Linked DNA regions of Homo sapiens: region 2 is linked to region 1. The links are contacts of gene promoters, found by promoter capture Hi-C in human tissues and cell types (Jung and others, 2019). All regions are on one chromosome and are shown on one strand. Each heading gives the region's core, a stretch centred on a gene start or on the middle of the fragment in contact. The rest is flanking DNA. Distances are from core to core; before and after follow the strand shown.

Region 1 (2,808 bases), core at 126-2,625:
AAAAATGCCTAGAAAATTGGTCTGTTCGCCTTTATAATTTTGGTTGAAAAATACTCCATCGCTCCCAACTGATGAAAACAGGAAGCTCTATTCATAAATATAAAATTCACTGCCTATGATATATAATCATCCTAATAAGAAAATGAGTTCTATACATACTTGTCCAAAGGGGCAAAAAAGGAGATAGTTTCCCAAAGATGTTTCCAATTTTCTTCTGAATCAGAATTAGCAAATCGAGACGACTAACATACTCTGTCTGTGGGCATTATTCCTTACTACACACAGCATTTTGTAATTTATTTCAAAGCTTCCATTAGAAACAAAAAAATACATAGCTTCTGTTAACCCACTCTATTCTAAGCTCATAGAATCAAATACTGAACAATCTACATTATAACATAAGCATTTTACTTTATAGAAGATCTGCTATCAGAAACTCTATTAATGTCTAAACTACTTAAAGAACTATATAAACTGAATACACTTCAATGAAAGACAAAAAATATTACAATCATAAAGAAAACTAAGATTCATCCAATAAACTATATTACAATCCCTGTCATTCATTTTTTTAAGATCTTCAAACTAGGCATGAGATAATGGTATACATGAAACATTACATTTAATCTTTATTGTAAAGGCCGCCATCTAATAGATTGATAATAAACTAGACAGACGTGATTTAAAATTTGTAAAAGAATGCCCAGACTAACACTTTCATGACAGCCAATTATAGTCAAGCCTAGCAAGCAGTTTGCAACCAGACCTTAAGGTAAACTTTTTTTTTTTTTACAATGAGTTACAGATTCACAAGTTTAAGAAGACAAGAAAAAGGAAAACAGAAGGAATCCAGCCACCCAGCAAATATGAAGCAGACCCCAGAATGTGATACAGTCCAAAGATGTGAATTATTGTATATCATCACTGTTGTTCAGAATTTCACACAGACTCTTGAGCCAATTTTGTTCATTTTTCCACAGACACAATAATGAACTAAAAAGAGGAGGCAAAAAGGCAGAGGTTGAGCGGGGAGTAGAAAGGAAAGCCCTTAACTGCAGAGCTCTGCTCTACAAATGCTTAACCTTACAGGAGTTTGGGCTCCTTCAGCATTTGTATTCTATCCAAATCCTCATGAGTCACAAAAATTAAAAAGCTATATCCTTCTGGATGCCAGGAAAGGCCTTACCACAAGCCTTTTGTGAGAGAAAGAGAGAGAGAGAAAGAGCAAGGGGGAAAAGCCACAGTGGTAGGCAGTCCCACTTTACTTAAGAGTACTGTGAGGTCACAAACCACATGATTCTGCCTCTCCAGTAATAGTGCTTGCAAAAAAAAGGAGTTTTAAAGCTTTTGCTTTTTTGGATTGTGTGAATGCTTCATTCGCCTCACAAACAACCACAGAACCACAAGTGCGGTGCAAACTTTCTCCAGGAGGACAGCAAGAAGTCTCTGGTTTTTAAATGGTTAATCTCCGCAGGTCACTACCAGCCACCGAGACCAACAGAGTCAGTGAGTGCTCTCTAACCACAGTCTATGCAGTAATAGTAGGTCCTTCAAATATTTGCTCATTCTCTTTTTGTTTTGTTTCTTTGCTTTTCACATGTTACCAGCTACATAATTTCTTGACAGAAAAAAATAAATATAAAGTCTATGTACTCCAGGCATACTGTAAAACTAAAACAAGGTTTGGGTATGGTTTGTATTTTCAGTTTAAGGCTGCAAGCAGTATTTACAACAGAGGGTACAAGTTCTATCTGAAAAAAAAAGGAGGGACTATGGCATCAAACAGCCTCTTCAGCACAGTGACACCATGTCAGCAAAACTTCTTTTGGGGTAAGTGTTACCATTTTTAAAATCCTGTAAGATATGAACCTGTTAAACATAAAGGTATGATTCTTTGATAAACTGCTAGCTTTTCCAAATAGCATATTAAAGATCCTAATTATGCTATCTTGTTGCATTAAGAATTGAAAAATGAAATTTCTGTATATATTTGCATTTGGTATCTGTAATGTATCTAATTTTCAAAGTAATGACTTGAAATATACAAAATTAAATTATCTCACATTGATCAAAATGTTTTCTAGAGTTATAGAGGTGAGGATATGAAAACAGTAAAAGAAACAGTTTAATACTCTCATTAACCCTCACCAGAAGAAAAGTCAGATCCTAAATTAATCAAAGCATTATAAATTATTGACTCCGGCAGCTCCCAATATTTGAGCAAACTTCAAAAAGGAAGCAATTTTACAAAATAACAGACCACAGAATTATCTCAACATTATGGTCTACCATGTATAACACAGAAATAAACCTGTAGTACAGTTAACATTTTAACCAGCTCAACTAAAAGAAATCTACTTATAAATTCAAACTGTATCCTATCTAAATAAGTTTGTTTCTAAACAACTTTATATAAGTATACATTCAGCTGAAATAAAATTATGATAAGCACATCACAGCCATTTTTAAAAGATCTTTATAGTTGCCCAGGATATTAAAAAGTTCATGGAAGTATTTTAAAACTTACATGCAACTGCATTTTTCTATGTAATTTTAATTTTACATCTACACACTGTTATCCATAGACCTTGTTATAAACACACTGAAACACTGAAACGTCTAAGATTCTTTTAATCACATTCTTGGACCTACCAAAATGAATAACTGCTGTTTAGTCTCATGAAAAATAAAGCTCCATAAGGATACCCTGTATGATTTTTAAAAGCCACAACTATTAAACCATGCTGGACTTTAAAAGAAGTAGGCATAATCTTGTCCCTTAATATTTAATTTCAAGTTACTGTTGAT
Region 2 (2,808 bases), core at 205-2,704, 1.2 Mb after region 1:
ATTCCAGGTGTGATCACTGATCCAATCCACAGGTCCCGCCACAGGGGCCTGGACGACTGAGCACCCGCAGGTGCCTGTGACTCATTGGTGTGGGTTGATTCTCCAAAGAAGAAACACTGATCTATTGGGGCCATCAAAATTGAGGCATGAGTCAGATTTCTCCAGGGTTTGACACATTGACAGAATACTCTGATAACTTAATTTCAGCGAAGGTGCTAATGGCTGATAATAGGATCTCTGGTTACTCTTGGATAACATCTACACTTAAATGGGACAAGGCTCTTTATAGTCTGGTGGCCACTGTCCATCCTGTCTCTCTGTCAGTTTCTCTCTCTTCTGTCCCCAGCTTTCACTTCCATGCCATGCACTGGCATTTCCCTCTGCCTGGGAAATTTTTAGAAATGCAAATTCTCAGTTCCACCCTCTATCTATTGAATCAGAAACTCGGGGTGGTGACCCAGAAACCTATGTTAATTAACAAGAGTTCCAGGAGATTCTGATGTGCGCTGAAGCTTGAGCTCACTTTTCTAAAAACCTGAGCTACATCAGCACATTTAATCTTCATGGCAGCTCTCTGAGGTAGGTACTAAGATTGCCCCATTTTACAGATGAGAAAACTGAGACACAGAAAGCTAAGCAACTTGACAATGGTTCTAAGTTGGGAAGTGGTAGAGCTGAGCTTTGAATCCAGGCTATCTAGCTTAAGAATTTAGTCATTCTATGACTCAGCTGTTACTTCGTGTATAAATAAATGCCTCTGTGAAGACTTCCGTGTGATGCCAATCTCCCAAATTTCACCAAACAGTATCAGTAGTCCCTACATCACTTTCTTCTCTTACTATGCATGTACTTTTCTCATCTTTCTATGCCTGGTACCCAGTACCTACGTTGCAATAAACACACCTTGGTATATGAGGAAAGAATGAATAATTAAATTAATGATTAGTGAATCAGTAAATATTATATCTTGCCTCAGAAGCAACTTTACCAATTTTTCTCAAGAAGTTTAAAATATACAGGTTACTAAATCCTATCTCTCACTTCCCTGAAAGTCTTTAGGAGTAGGACCTGTGAATCTGTATTTTTAGTAGTCAAAACAGAAATAAGAACCTGGGTTTAAGAAAAAGTTGTGCCCAACATACTGATTCAGCTCACATAAAACTCCCACCTTAATTCACACTTACAATATCAGAGAGCTTGATAAGACCAAGCTGAGGGCATCAATGGGAAAGGAGGGACTCATCTCATCCTTAAATCCTACCTCATAGGAGAGCTGCTTACCTCGTAACCAACCCTACCTGGAAGAAAGCCTGAATGTGCTTCACATTTCAGGCACATTATATAATATTCTTTGAATAATATCAACATAAGAAATGCCTGCAGTTGGTTCCACCAAGCTGTATATGGGAAGTTGTTTTCCCCCTGGAACAAGCAGTCCTCAGCATACAAATGGGTCATATTCCAAAAATGCATTTGTAAGTTGAGTTGTTTGGATCTCAGAAAACACTTTCCCACAGAAGTAATATTAGAAAAGAGGGTTCCATTCCTCTGCCAAAACACAAACCTGATTTAGAACACTCTGTCTCTGAAATAGCATTTCAGATGGCCTACACGGACATCCATGGGAAATGTGACTGGGTCCCACCCAACTTGGAACTGGGGAAGATGGGAGCACTGTGACTTCTTGGTGAGGCTGGGCTGTGCCAGCAACAGGGACTTGCCTTAGTTCTCCTCCCTCCCCTAACACACACACACACACACACACACACACATACACACAGTGGCTACTGGTCATGTGATGGAAAGAGAAAGTTGCCACTCCAAGAAGACTACTTGTGTTCCAATGAAACCTTTCCTCCCTTCAATTGTACATTCAAGAGCTGCCCCAGACTTGCAGCTCAGAGGTCCACATTTCAGGAATAGATCACCCAGAATGCTGTACCCTAACCTCTGATATTTTCTTACCTGAATTTTGGAAACATTACACCATCTGTAGTTTCAATTTTAGAGCAATTGTAACCACCTTCCCTAGTATATCTAGTATAATAATATAGGGATAAACATAGAATAAGTGGCATAAATAAAATGGCTGCTGATAAAGTGGAAAAGAGACCCAAATGTCTAGTTTTCCTTGGCCATCAATTAATTAGCTGTGTGACAATGGGCTAAATTCTCTGGGCCTCAGTTTTCTCATTTGTAAAATACTGGGGAAGATAAGTGATTTATATAATCTATAACAGTTTTTTCCTAAATTTAATATTCTAGAATTCAATAAAAATAGTTCTACCTGCTCCCTGGTGAGAAGATTGCTAGTCGGTTATTCTCAAAATTTTTCCACACTTGGCAAAGAAACACTGAAACCTCATTTCAGGCCCAAAGATACATCAAGAAGAACCAAGGCTGGTGGGTTAAAGTTTCATTTCATTCTTATTAAATTAAATGTTATTTCATTCCATTCTTACTTTCCACAGCCAAACTTCACTCGGGCAATGCTCAATGATTTTAAGCCTTGTACTCAATTAGACATTTGTCAGCACACAGCAAGTTAAGGATTGACATGGCAAAATACTGATAATAATTTGTCCAAATTTTGACATGGAAGGAAAACAGAGGAAAAAAAAGAATATAAAAGAATTTGAAGTTATCTCAGAAGGAAACCTTTCAAATAATCAATATACTTAATCTTAACATGTACCATCATAGACTTGAATTTATCTGAGAGCAAAAAATATTGTTTCTTTGACAGGAACCCCCTACCTAAAGGCAATACTTTCTAGAGGAAAAGAAGTGATGGAATGTGGCTACTGG

The links. The method cuts DNA at HindIII sites, captures the fragments that hold promoters and counts their contacts. A contact is called where the count stands out against the background at its distance.
Region 2: a contact is called between a fragment that was not itself captured here and the fragment with the promoter of RUNX2 in region 1, in 1 of the 25 tissues and cell types used here (dorsolateral prefrontal cortex).

The regions. Positions count from the first base shown.
Region 1 is chr6:45,326,955-45,329,762 of GRCh38, forward strand. It overlaps RUNX2 (RUNX family transcription factor 2), which reads left to right and starts at 1,376. Exons shown (of 9, transcript NM_001024630.4): 1 at 1,376-1,506; 2 at 1,707-1,830. The coding sequence starts at 1,773. The region is part of intron 2 of SUPT3H (SPT3 homolog, SAGA and STAGA complex component); the gene reads right to left. RefSeq lists a cis regulatory region at 94-100, a promoter at 1,058-1,698 and an enhancer at 1,105-1,145. The HindIII fragment of the contact is 4,056 bases long and covers 1-2,808 here.
Region 2 is chr6:46,501,225-46,504,032 of GRCh38, forward strand. The region is part of intron 1 of RCAN2-DT (RCAN2 divergent transcript); the gene reads left to right. Among named protein-coding and RNA genes, the nearest start is that of RCAN2-DT, 11 kb to the left of the region's middle. The HindIII fragment of the contact is 4,989 bases long and covers 1-2,808 here.